Regions from separate parts of the Homo sapiens genome. Here region 1 is linked to region 2. Evidence: promoter capture Hi-C in human tissues and cell types (Jung and others, 2019). All regions are on one chromosome and are shown on one strand. The core of a region is centred on a gene start or on the middle of the fragment in contact, and the rest is flanking DNA. Distances in the headings are between cores, read along the strand shown. Region 1 overlaps PLEKHA7 (pleckstrin homology domain containing A7). Region 2 holds the start of PLEKHA7 (pleckstrin homology domain containing A7).

What was found. Contacts are between HindIII fragments. The study calls those that stand out against the background at their distance.
Region 1: a fragment that was not itself captured here is called in contact with the fragment with the promoter of PLEKHA7 in region 2 in 6 of the 25 tissues and cell types used here (H1 embryonic stem cells, heart left ventricle, liver and 3 more).

What each region holds. Positions count from the first base shown.
Region 1 is chr11:16,934,162-16,940,995 of GRCh38, forward strand. All of the region lies in intron 3 of PLEKHA7 (pleckstrin homology domain containing A7), which reads right to left. Among named protein-coding and RNA genes, the nearest start is that of SNORD147, 12 kb to the left of the region's middle. RefSeq lists an enhancer at 1,677-2,188. The HindIII fragment of the contact is 5,345 bases long and covers 1,657-6,834 here.
Region 2 is chr11:17,009,778-17,016,562 of GRCh38, forward strand. PLEKHA7 (pleckstrin homology domain containing A7) reads right to left here and starts at 4,637. Exons shown (of 27, transcript NM_001329630.2): 1 at 4,539-4,637; 2 at 4,348-4,424; 3 at 4,212-4,269. The coding sequence starts at 4,624. RefSeq lists an enhancer at 2,399-3,160 and a silencer at 3,045-3,339. The HindIII fragment of the contact is 16,980 bases long and covers 2,253-6,785 here.

The sequences.
Region 1 (6,834 bases), core at 3,079-5,578, 76 kb before region 2:
TCCCTTTTTTGGTCCTCCTATCACTGCAGCCCATCAGGGTATGAGGTCCTGGAACCACTTATAAGGGCCTGAGTGCCATGATAATGAAAGGGTTTCCAAAATAAGCTTCCCAAATGCCCTGCTGGCACTCAGGCTACAGCATTTCCAGAAAAATGCCAACCTCGCTTGATAAAATACTTTTAGAATTGACACCTCCTTGGCTCAGATGAAGTGGGTGTGTGCTGGGGGTCAGGTAGAGGTTTGGAGGGGAAAAAAAAAGCAATTTTCAAAGTTCAGCTGAAATGTCAGGAACATGAAGCAGCCCATGTTTACACAGAGCTTTCCAAAACCCAGAGTAGCTTCCAAGTCGCTTTTTAAAAAATGGCTACATCAACTTGTCCAATGAACTGGCTTTTTACCTAAACAGAAACAGTACCAGGCTATTGCCATTCTCCTTGTCTCCTTAGGCTTAATCTCCTAATATAATTTATATTCCTATTGATCCTGATTGTTTTATTTTGTTATCCATATTTCACCCTTTTCCCATAAGTTACCTCAAATCCACTGTGGAACAGGATAAGCAATAAATGAATACTCAGTGTATGGTCTTCATATTCCTGGATATTAAATGTTCAGATTCATGTAATTAATAAAGGTTGTTTACTGTGGATATTAATTAGAGGTTAAGGGGAGGAAATATCCTAATTAATATGTAAAATACTTTGAAATTTTTATCTCTTACAGTAAAAAAAAGAGTCTGGTTATAATTAGCACCTGTATTTTTCATACTTTTCTGTCCCTAATTGCCTAAACAATAATTTCTGGGGAAAGTAGGTGAAATCTTAATGTACTACATGTGAATGGGCGATTTTCTGGCTCTTACCATTCAAACTAGGAACAAGACGCCAGTTCAGTAACTGTGTTACTTCTTCCAAATAAGACTTGTCAAAGCTACTGTGGGGAAATTGGGAAAAAGAACCTAAATCTATCCACAAATAAATATCGAATGTGAGGCTGGGCATGGTGGCTCACGCCTGTAATCCCAGCACTTTGGGAGGACAAGGCAGGCAGATCAACTGAGGTCAGAAGTTCAAGCCCAGCCTAGCCAATATGGTGACACCCCGTCTCCACAAAAATACAACATTAGCTGGGCATGGTGGCATATGCCTGTAATCCCAGCTACTCGGGAGGTTGAGGCAGAAGAATCGCTTGAACCCGTTGCAGTGAGCCAAGATCGTGCCATTGCACTCCAGCCTGGGTGACAGAGTGAGACTCCGTCTCAAAAAAAAGATTAAATGTGTCGGTCCTTTTCTAGTGTGGGGAGGGGTAAAGGCATGTCAGTGCCCACTGCTATTCTCTGGTGTCCTTTTAAAGGTAGAAACATGCTTTAAAATATGAAATAGCCAGCAGTCTGGAAACACAACTTTGGAGACATAAAAGTTATTAGGTTTTCCAAATCACTGATATGAGCCAAAATCCTTACTGAGACTAGGGGGCCAAAGATAGAACTGAAAGCCTTGTGACATTTGCAAACACCACCCTAAGTGCCTTCTTCAGGGATACTCTCTCTACATAATCCTGAATGTTGCAATTATTCAGATCCCCATGTGCAAGCAGCACATGTTTTTGAGGCTCATTCTCAAGGGACCAAAGAAAAAGTGGTATTTTTGTCTAGCATTTTTTTTATCACCAGAATTCACTATAACCAGTATCTTGGCACTCCAAGAGCACACAGTGATGACAGATGCTTATAATGTTCACCCTGAAGACTTGCAACCTTGTGGAAGAACAGACGGATCAAATTATGCCTTGTTGCAGTTTGAAATGTGTTTTACTGCCTTCTAATATTTTGAAGACTGACAATCTATGCAGCACACGGTAGGTGGCAACACTGAGCCAGGAGAACATCCCATTTGCCAACCTTGCTGAATAGAGAAAGTTTAATATGATAATGAACCCCTTTTGAAAAATCAGGTCTCTGCAGGGCACAGTGGCTCATGCCTGTAATCCCAGCACCTTGGGAGGCCGAGGTGGGCGGATCACAGGGTCAGGAGTTCAAGACCAGCCTGGCCAACATAGTGAAACCCTGTCTCTACTAAAAAATACAAAAAATGAGCCAGGCGTGGTGGCAGGTGCCTGTAATCCCAGCTACTCGGGAGGCTGAGGCAGGAGAATTGCTTGAACCCGGGAGGCGGAGGTTGCAGGGAGCCGAGCTTATGCTATTGTACTCCAGCCTGGGAAATAGCGTGAGACTCTGTCTCAAAAAAAAAAAAAAAAAAAAAAAAATCAGGTCTCTATTAGAATAATGACAACAGGGACAAAGCAATTAAAAACACATGCCTAACAAATTTGGAATCAAAAGCACCATCAAATGTACTTCCTGGCATGTTGTCATTTCCCACCTCCACTCTCCCAATCATTGGGCAAATCCAATTATATTCCTGGAGACACCCGAATCATGCCTCTTCTCTCCCTTTCTCTCCAGTGGCTTTTATGAAAATAATATTCAACTTTAATGCATCTGCACTTCAGGAGACAGTGTGACAAGAACAATAAACACATTCACCATGTGCAGAAACCAGGGAAAATGAGTTCTGAGACTATCTTTGCCAACCCCAGGTGTGGGCTTTCTTTTCCCTAAACTCAGGCGATATTGGAATGTAGCAGCTGTCAGAAAGCAGCAATGGCCTGTGCCAGAAATACCTTTGCTGAGCTGCTCTAATTGCCAAGAGATAAGAACCCATAACTCACACAGACACTTGTAGCTCTGGCTCAGAAACAGCAGGCAGAAAGGAAAGAGCATGCCTTCCAGCAATGTGACCTTGGGCAAGCTGTTTCCCTCCCCCTGAGCCTCAGTCTCCCTCATCTTTGAGGACTACCAGCAACATGTATCAAGTACCAATTACAGGATTGGATTTATAGCAGGTTAATAACCTGGAGTCGTTGTTATTAACAATCTCCAAATTGTTAATAACCGTGGAGTAAAATGAGCTTGGAGATGGCCACCAAGCTCTCTGGACAAGAGACAGTTTGCACGCTTGAAAGGGCCTTGATTTCCTGGGAAGACACTACAAGAATCAGTCACATAAAATCCCTGAATGCTTTGGCCTTATTCATTTGTTCTAACAAATATTTATTGAGGGTATACCATGTGCCAAGATTGTGCTGGGCACTGAGGACAATATGGCCCAAGTCTCATGAGGTATATAGTCTAGTAGAGAACACAAGCTTTCAAAATAATCATCTAAGCACATGAGAATGTACATCTATGATAAACACTACAGAAGAGAGGTATACGACCATCTGTATCATAGCCACCTAAATTGAGAAATTGGCCCAGTCTGAGGAGCCATATAATGAGGAGTGAATAAGACAAAGAAGAAAGTTGAAGAGGACCTTGTTTATAAGAAATTTAACTTAAAGAAACAAACTAGGAAGCACTTAGCTATCCCTTAACTAGGATGTTTTTCTTTTCTTTTTTTTTTTAGATGGAGTTTCACTTTTGTTGCCCAAGCTGGGGTGCAATGGCGCCATCTCAGCTCACTGCAGCCTCCACCTCCCAGGTTCAAGCGAGTCTCCTGCCTCAGCCTCCTGAGTAGCTGGGATTACAGGCATGCACCACCATGCCTGGCTAATTTTGTATTTTTAGTAGAGATGGTGTTTCTCCATGTTGGTCAGGCTGGTCTTGAACTCCCGACCTCAGGTGATCCACCCGCCTCGGCCTCCCAAAGTGTTGGGATTACAGGTGTGAGCCACAGCACTCAGACGATGTTTTTCTTTTCTAACAGTAAAATCCAGAAAGCTTACCCTGTTTCCTTCTTGTTTTGGCTGCCAGGAAGCTCCAAGTCAAATGTGCAGCTCAGCAGAAACACAGACCCTTAATGTGAGTGCCTTCGTATTCTTCCCAACCTCCTGGGTTTGTCCTTTTCCTCTTACTTATATTTTCCCTAGTCCTGATTTCAAATTCCTATTTCTATTTTATCATTGTATCTAGTGTTCATGGACCTTCAGAGGAAGGAGGCAGGATGCAAACACAAATGTTCTAATATTCTTCCTAAGGTTAAGGGGTTGAGATGGAAAGAATGAACAGGGTGCCCTTTGTGTCCCCTTGCTGGTGTGTTACCCTAGAAGCAGGGAAAGACACGTGGCTTCGTCTGCATTTATACAAATGGTGCATTCTGTTTGATTTGTGTGATCTAGAATGATGGTGCTTTTTCCCATAGCCCCTTTATCATGTATTTATGCCCCAACGAGTAGCTTTCCTTGTGCTCATTTTTTTCTCTGAAACATTTACTGGTCTATTAATACATTTAGTGAACTTACATTCTCAATATTCTAAGATAGGTGCCCCCCTCACTTTTTTTTTCAATTTTTCTCTTTTAATAAAGAAAATTCATTAAATGTGTAACTGAAGTTCTCCCTTTATACCTTTGAAAGGCATGATATATACATAAAAATCCTTAATCAGACCATACATCATGATTTTTGGATCAGAAAATAGTCACCTTCCTCCTATAGTGATTAACATTCACATGTTGGAAGGCCGAAAACAGAATAGAGATGAGAAAGAGATGTGGGAGAGACCATTTTTCAATGTGCAGTTTATCTGCACCTCATTAAAAAATAGAATGCTTTAGGAATAAAACATCCATTTCTTGTAAAAAACAACAACAACAATGTTCCTCTTCCTGGGAAAATGAAATTTTTGTAAATAATAATCAGACACAATTCAAGAAACCACAAACTGTGGCTCTTACCCTTCTCTGGTCCTTGCTTGAATAAAGCTTTGGACTGTCTTTCCCAGGAAAGAAATACACAAACACAATTTTTTACAATAATAAACACAATTTTGAATTTTAGAAGATTCAAAGATCTCCTAGAGGAATATTCATGAATTTCTTAGGCAGAATCTTCCTAAATGGAGCAAATACCTAAGGATGCCCAAGATCTTTGACAATGTGGCAAGAACATTTGAAAAAATATACTATAAGCTGGACACAGTGACTCCCTCCTATAGTCCCAGCGCTTTGGGAGGCTGAAGCAGGTAGATCATCTTGATGCCAAGAGTTCAGGACTAGGCTGGCCGACATGGTGAAACCCTGTCTCCACTAAAAATACAAAAAATTAGCCAGGTGTGGTGGTGCACGCCTATAACCCCAGCTACTTGGGAGGCTGAGGCAGGAGAATTGCTTGAGTCTGGCAGGCAGAGGTTGCAATGACCCGAGATCGTGCCACTGCACTCCAGCCTGGGTGACACAGCAAGGCTCTGTTATCTAAAGAAAAAAAATAAAAAGAAAAAATATACTATGAATATTAGCTATACAACATAGATAAAAGCTATGAAGATTAATTAAAATAATAGGAAATTTTAAAAATTTACGTATTTAGTTTTTATTGAGTCAATTTAAAGAAAAATACTACACGGGTATTGCAAAAATGCAGAGGTGAGACAGGAATGCTTAAAGTTAAAGAAATACTGCACAGGCAATGCACAGATTCTAGTTTTAAAACTATGCAGATGCTGTCACTCACAAAGTAAATCATTCAGGGCCACTGATTTTTTTCGTGTTTTCTCTCCTCATGTTCCCCAAACCAATTAGCTTGGCAACATACCCTACTCCACCCCAACAAGGCCTTCCTTCTATTAATGAGCCAGAGAATTTCTGGTTTGCTGCAAAGTTTATGAAGAGTGAAAGGGTGCCTTGGGATAGAAAATGTGTGTGGGGTGAAGGGACTGGGGACTCACCCTGAGCTCTCTGGGCAGAGGTAACAGACCAGCTGCATTTCACTGACCCCTAGATCTGATGAGACCCAGACATCACCATAGGAAGTGAGTAAGAAACCCAATGGTTCAGAGAATGGTACCACATTTGCCAAGCCAAAGCCAGGGCCACTGGTGCTGGGGGCAAGAAGGGTTAGCTGTGTGGATCTGTCTCCCTCTTCATAAACAATCAAAACTTTAACATTCCTATCTCCCCTACTGGGCTGTAACTTCCAGGGGAAGAAGTACCACTTGTGTCTTCTCAGCCCTGTGTCTCTGGCCCCTAGCACAGTGGCTGGCACATAGTAGGTACTCTGAAAAAATGGAAGAACTATTTTGGGGTAAGGGAAGAGAAGTATCTCAGATCTTTTCTTCTGCTGTTTTTTTTTTTTTTTTTTTTTTTGAGACAGAGTCTTGCTCTGTCACCCAAGGCTAGAGTGCAATGGCGTGATCTGGGCTCACTGAAACCTCTGCCTCCCAGGTTCAAGCAATTCTCCTGCCTCAGCCTCCTGAGTAGCAGGGACTACAGGCAGGTGCCACCATGCCTGGCTAATTTTTTTGTATTTTTAGTACAGACGGGGTTCCACCAGATTGGCTGCTGGTCTTGAACTCCTGACCTCAGGTGATCCGCCCGCCTCAGCCTCCTAAAGTGCTGGGATTACAGGCGTGAGCCACTGCACCTGGCCTCTTTTGTTTTTCTCTCTGGTGGCTAACAGATGCTTTGTACTAGTAGATGCTCAAGAAATGGTTCCTTTAAAAGTGAATAAACTGCCTGACATAACCAGTAAGTGTTCAAAAATGAAGATAATTACCTTTTTTTGTTTGTTTTTTTAAAGGACAAATGAATCCAACATAGTGCCTTTGTTTTTTCACTTTCCATAGGCAAGTACAGAGTGGCAAACAAAAGGGGAGGAGTGATGGAGCCCTGAATTAAAGCTGCCTGTGGCTTCCCCAGGGCTGTAGACAACAGGCCCAGTCCTCCCTAGCCAGGTGGCTCTGAAGTCATTTCTATCTATTCCATCCCCTAGGGAAGGAATTTTAGGGCTGAGTGTGACACCAAGAACCAGGTGCCCTCCACTCTCTGGATAAACGAT
Region 2 (6,785 bases), core at 3,387-5,886:
GGAGCATACCACCATTAATTTTTTCATTTTTTGTACAGATGAGGCCTCTCCGTGTTGCCCAGGCTGATCTTGAACTCCTGGCCTCAAGTGATCCCCTCGCCTCCGCCTCCCAAAGTGTGGAATTGCAGGCATGAGCCACTATACCCAGCCAAAAAATCTTTTTAAAGGGGTTATCAACATCACTTAGTCTAGAACTGGGAGAACCAACAGTAGATTTCTTATACATTTTGTCCCTCATTAATGCAAAATTGAACAAAAAGTGCAGAAATCAAAACAAAAATTCACCTGCCTAACCTCAAGCTTTTCTGCTTCAAGAAATGGACTCCGAGGCCAGGCACAGTGGCTCATGCCTGTAATCCGAGCACTTTGGGAGGCTGAGGCAGGCGGATCACTTCAGGTCAGGAGTTTGAGACCAGCCTGGCCAACATGGTGAAACCCTGTCTCTACTAAAAATGCAAAAATTAGCCAGTCATGGTTGTGCACACCTGTAGTCCCAGCTACTTAGGGGGTGGCCGAGGCATGAGAATCACTTGAACCCAAGAGGCAGAGGTTGCAGTGAGCTGAGATCGTGCCACTGCACTCCAGCCTGGGCGACAGAGCAAAGCTGTCTTTAAAAAAAAAAAGAAAGAAAAAGAAAAGAAAGAAAAGAAATGGACTCTGGAGAGTATTAAAACATTTGCTGGCCAGGCATGGTGGCCTGCATTTGTAGTTCCAGCTACTTGGGAGGCTGAAGTGAGAGGATCACTTGGCCCCAGGAGTTCAAGGCTGCAGTGAGCTATGATTGCACCACTGCACTCCAGACTAGGAGACAGAGGAAGATTCTGTTTCTTAAAATTTTTTCAAAAATTAAAATGTTTTAATCTGCTAAATATGAGGAGCAACTGAATACATCCTGTAAAACCTCACACAACTTTCCTGTGCAAGGAGCCATTAGGAAAAATAAAATCAGCCATGTCAATGCTTTGTCGCTCTCACTTTATGAGCCAGATTAGAGGAGGCTCCTGCCCTCAACACAAAAATCAAACATTCAGAAATGCTCACGGCAAAGCTAAGAAATCAGACAACAGTAAAACATTTTTCATGTGGGGGGCGGGGGATGAGGGAGAGAACAATTACTCCCAAAACCCTTAAGTCTCTCAAAAAATTGTCACAGAAGGACGTCAGAAGTACAATCACCTGCCACAGGGCCCTGCCTTTGAGGGTAGGGAACACTGTCACACATTGCTTTTTCTAGGCCTGGGAGGAGTCAGCCAAGGCCCTGGGGGCACAGGAGCTCACTGTAGGAAAATCATTAGGGACCTCACAGACAAGTTACCATGGAAGAGTCAGCAAAGGTGTGGAAGGCTGTGCTCCAGCCTCCAGAGTCCCACACGCGGCCTCACACACCCAGCCCAAGGCTGCACCTGGTACTTTGGGACACTTGCAGCCCTTCCTCCCGCCAAATGAATGATGGGCCCTGCCCCTGGGTGACGCTAGTGAGATGCAGGCCATGGATCCCATCCCTCTCACCTTCTTAGAAACACTGCTCCAGCAACTGCCCCGTCTCTTTACTGCAGCATCGACTTCTTCCTCTCAGTGGGATCATTCCCATCAAAACAAACATGCTGTACAATCTCCCACCAAAAAAAAGAACCCTCCCTCAAACCCACATCCTCTCCAATTACCGGCTAATGTCTCAACTCCACTTTGCAACAAAACTACCTGGAAGATTTGCCTAACTGACTCCCTGTCTTCACCCCGTGTTTTATCTTCCACCTACTCCAGTCAGATTTTGTCCTTTAAGGCTTCTGTGACCATGCATTCTCCTGGGGTTTCTCCTACCTTCTCAGTCCTTCTCAGTCTCCTTGCTGGCTTCACCTCTCACCCCTCTAAACACTGCTTTGACCATCCAAAGCCTCAGAACATCTCTCTTCTGTCTGTACTCTCTTCCTAGGGGATTTCATCTAATCCCATGGCCTTGAATAACATCTATTATACCCAATGGGTCTCTTCTGTCCTCTCTCCCCACCAAGCTTCAGATCACACTATCTGACATACTCATATCTCAAATGTAAGATGGCAAAACAAGATCTCATGATTCTCCTCCACCCCAAACCGGCTCTTCCCATCTCAACGATATGAATGCTATCCACTCAGGTGCCCAAGCCCTGAGGAGTCATCTTTGCCTCTTCTCTTTCTCCCACAGACTATTCAGTCCATCATGAAGGTGTGAAGAGCCTATTTCCTAAACACAGCCTGAATGTGACCACTACTCCCTGTCTACTGTGCTACCACCCTCAGGCAAGCCACTTCTAACTCCTGCCTGGAAGAGGGCAACAGCCTCAGCTGCTCTCCTGCCTCCCCCTGCAGTGGCCACCTACAATCCAATCTCCTCACAGTGATCGTTCTAAAAACACACACCAAATCATGCCATTTCCCTGCTTAAAACCCTCCAATGACGTTTCACTGGGCTTAGAATAAAGTATGAAAATTCCTCACCCCGGCTCACAAAGCTTTGCGGCATTTACCTTTCTCCTACCTGTGACCTCTCCTCATGCCACTTTCTCCCTTGTGCACCACATTCCAGCCTTCCTGCTCCTTAAACTCCAAGCTCTTTTCTGCCTTAAGCCCTTGCCCTGGCTGTTCGCTCTTCCCGAAATGCTTTGCCAACTCATCATCACATGATGTCTCCTTCTTGTCATTCAAATTTTACTTTAAATGTTGCCTATTCAGAAACACCATCCCGATCTCCCAGTACAACCAAGCCACCCAGTCACTCCATGTCACATCACCTTATTTTAACTTTCTGCACAGTAGTAACCACGATCTGATATTATTATTTGTGTTTTTTACTTATTTTCTACTCCCTTCCCTCTCCTATTAGATTGCAAGCTCCATGAGCACCTAGAACTTTTCTGTTTTTTGTTCCCAATGCCTAGAACAACGTGTGAACGTGTGGCACACAGGAAAATTGTAATAACATCAACTGATGCAGTTATGAGCCAGAGAGGCCCACTGACAGCAAGACTCTGATGGCCCCAGCCAACTCCCCAACTTCACATACACACATATGAGGCAGGGCAATAGAACCGCAGCAAGGCCCTAGTCCTTAGGTCTGTAAATCTCACCCATCAGTATTTTCAACTATTATGCAAGAACCCAAACCAGAAAAGGAGGTTCCGGGGTTTTCTTGAAATAGGCTGCTTTATTCCTAACAGTAGTAGTTCTGACTCACAGTCGCCGAGGTACACCCAGTCAGTACTAGTCAGACCACCGTCCAGACCTTTGGCGAGCTGATTCATTCAGTGAACAAACATTTACCGAGTGCCTACTTGCTGTCCGGCACTGGGGCAAGGGGTCAAAGGCAGTGTCTGGCCTCCCGGAGCTCAGCAGGCAGAGGGAAACACGCTGCAACACAGACTCCCGCCGGAGTGGGAAAGCAAAGCCTGTACTGGCATAGGAGCCTGACCCGCGCCTTCACTTACTGCGCCCCAATCTGACATGGACTGATCCTACAGACCCAGGGTAACCTGGCTGGTGCGCCAACACTCCGGGGCTTTTGCGGAAAAGTCGCCCGTGGACTAACGGAAGCACCAGCAATCCCCCGGTTCAGCTCCGGCCGAAGAGACGCGGAGCGCTCGAGGAAAGTCATTGGTTGACCAGTTCCCTTCCCCACCCCCTCCCTCCCCGCAGGCCCGCGCAGTGGATGGAGGCCGGGGGCGAGGTTCCGACTCTCCAAGACCATCCCAGAGCCTGCGGCGGGAGAGGGGGCGTCCTCCTAAGCGAGATTCCCCTAGTCTCTCCCTCTCCCCACTCCAACCCCGCAGGCCCACACCAGGACAGAACTTCTCGTTCTACTCCTCCCACCCGAGCCCATCCAGGTCCCGGCACTCGCCTCTCCCGGCGGGGCGCAGCCCCAGACCCTAGAGGGGAGGCGTGCCCAGCCCGCACACCAGCACCCGAATCCAGCCGGATTGCAAGGTCCAGGGCGCAGAGTCTGCGGCCTCTTCCCCCCCGGCCCAGGTCCCCAGCGTAGGTGCGGCCCCCACCGCCTTCCTCTCGGAGGCCGCCAAACAACTTGGGCACACAAAACGTTGAGTGTGGCCGCGGCGCAGCGCGCGCCAACGAGCCCGGGCCGGCGGGAGCAGAGGAAGGGCGGGGCGCCCGGCGGGAACGGGGAGGGACCCCCCCCCCGCGGCACAGGTGCGAGCGCGGCGGCCCCACTCACTCACTCGATGAAGTAGCTGGCGCCCTCCTCCGTGAAGCCCTCCTCCCAGCCGCGGGGCAGGTCTGCGGAAACGCCAGAAAAGTCGGGTCAAACTTGGGCCGCCGCTGCGCGCGCCCCCCACCCGCCGGCCCGGCGCCCACCTGAGCGGATCATGTGGCCCGAGTTGACGGGCTCCCCGGTGCGCGGATGCAGCCAGGTCGTGCAGCGGAGCTGGTCACTGCGGGCAGAGAGGTGCACCTGTTAGCGCCGCCACAGCCCGCCGGGTGCCCGCCCGGCCCCCGCCCCCGCGCCCCCACCCGCGTCCCCGCGTCCCCGGGTCCTCGCGCCGCACTTGATGAAGAAGACGCGGCCATCCCGGCACACCCCGTAGGACCAATGCTCAGGTAAAGTGTCCCGCCCGACCGTCGCCGCCGCCATGTTCGCCGAGCGCGGAGCCGCCGCGGGGTGGGGGGGAGGGGGCGGGGGCGCGGGCAGGGGCGGAGGCGGGGGCGGTGGCGGGGGCTCGGCCTGCGCGTGGCCCGGCGGCGCCGCGAGGCGCTCCATCCAGGCGCGGGCTCCTGAGGGAGCGACCGCCCGGCCGGGTCCTGGCGCCCGGAGTTCGCAGCCGCTCCGGCCAACCCAGCGCAGTGCCCGCGGCCTTTGTCCCCGAGCCTTCCCCGCCCCCAGCCTGCTGGCACCGGCGCTCCCCTTTGCCCCCGAGGCCGGGAGACCCGGGCGGCGCGGGGGGCCGCTGGCGGGGGCCGCTGGCGGGCGCGCCTGGGCAGCTTCGGGGCGCGCGGTTGGACCCGACCAACTCCGAAAACGGCGAGCGCCCGAACGCTCAGTAAACCCCAGCCGACCCGCACCACAGAACTTCCCGACCCGGGAACTCCGCTTGTGTGTGAACCAAGTTAACACTCAGGTTCCTGCCATATTCCCAGCCTCCTTCTCTTCCCCTGTAAGGTTAATCGAGTCCACACGGGATTGTTGTGTAGATTAAATGAAGTAACAATCGCATAAAGTGCTTAACCGGACCATGGCATGTAGTAGGTGCTCTATCAACGGCAGGCCGAGCGCGATTTCATTTTCCCAAGTTTTCAGCTGGGATGTGAAACAGGAGGGAGCAGGGTTACCGCCACACACCACTGAGGTTGCAGGGATCGCAAGCTCTTGCCTTCAGTTTCTGTCAAGTAACAGAAAAAAGGGGTTTTGAGGGCTCGGCAGCACGTCCATCTCTGGAAGAGCGGTGGCCAGGCGGGGCCTCTAGGGGGCCCTGCAAAGCTCTTTGCAGTGGCGGCACCCTCTCATATTCGGGTCTTTACTCCTATCTTATCTCCTCGGGGAGCCCTCCCTGAGCCCTCTGCAAAGAAAATCCTTCCCCTCCTTCCCTCGCTATTTCATTACTTGTTTACATTTAATTGATATTTGTGTTTGTCTTGTTTGTTGTATATTAGTTCCAACATGTCAGCTGGATGAGAGAAGGGGCTTTGATCTACCTCATACACTGCCTGGTCTCCAATGCCTGGAACAGCACCTGACTCATGTATGCATTACGCATTCAATAACTGTAGGATGGGGTGGGGCACGGTGGCTCAGGCCTGTAATCCCAGCACTCTTGGAGGCCGAGGCGGGTGAATCACTTGAGGTCAGGAGTTCTATTCCAGCCTGGCCAACATGGTGAAACCCCGTCTCTACCAAAAAAATACAAAAGCTAGCCGGGCGTGGTGGCGGGCGCCTGTAATCCCAGCTACTCAGGAGGCTGAGGCGGGAAAATCGCTTGAACCAGGGAGGCAGAGGTTGCAGTGAGCCGAGATCGCGCCGCTGCCCTGCAACCTGTGCAACAGCGAGACTCAGTCTAAAAAAAAAAACTGCAGGATGAGTGAATGAAACATACTCCACACTCAGACTCCCGGCCACACACACACACACACACACACACACACACTGAGCAAAGACAGAGCAGCAGCTGGGCTCCAGCTGTTGTCAGGCCCAGCCTTCTCGGGACATAGGCTCTGATTGATGGGAGGAGGCGCGCCTGAAAGTGAGACTGTATGCAATGTGAGCACTAGTTATTCAGAAAGGTGCCCAAACAGGTGGAATTAGGCTGGACCCTGAAGGACTGGTTAGGTTTGACTGGGAAAAGAGCACTCCAGAGGGGAGGGATGGGAGAGCATGCACATAATTTTGGGAGGGCTGTGAGATGTTGATGAGACCATAAAGGGGCCCTTCCTTGGGAACAGACAGTGGTGTTGGGGAAGGAGGCATTTATGAGTTAGAAGAGGTAACTGGTTGCAGAGGACGGGGGACACCTGTCTGAAGGAACCTCCTGCCTCTGAGGAGGTTGTTGAGCAAATGAAAATAGGAAAGCGGTGTTTTGCTAGCTAAACATTGATTTTAAATAATACATTAAATGGGCAAAGGGTATGAACCCACAGTTAATAGAAAAGTAATACAGATAACTTTTAAGCAAATGAAAAGATACTGAGCCACTTCATAATAGAAGAACTGCAACTTACGGTGAAATACTATTTTTTTAGATGTCAGATTGGAAAAGATAAATTAGAAAAGATATTGGCCAGGCGTGGTGGCTCACGCCTGT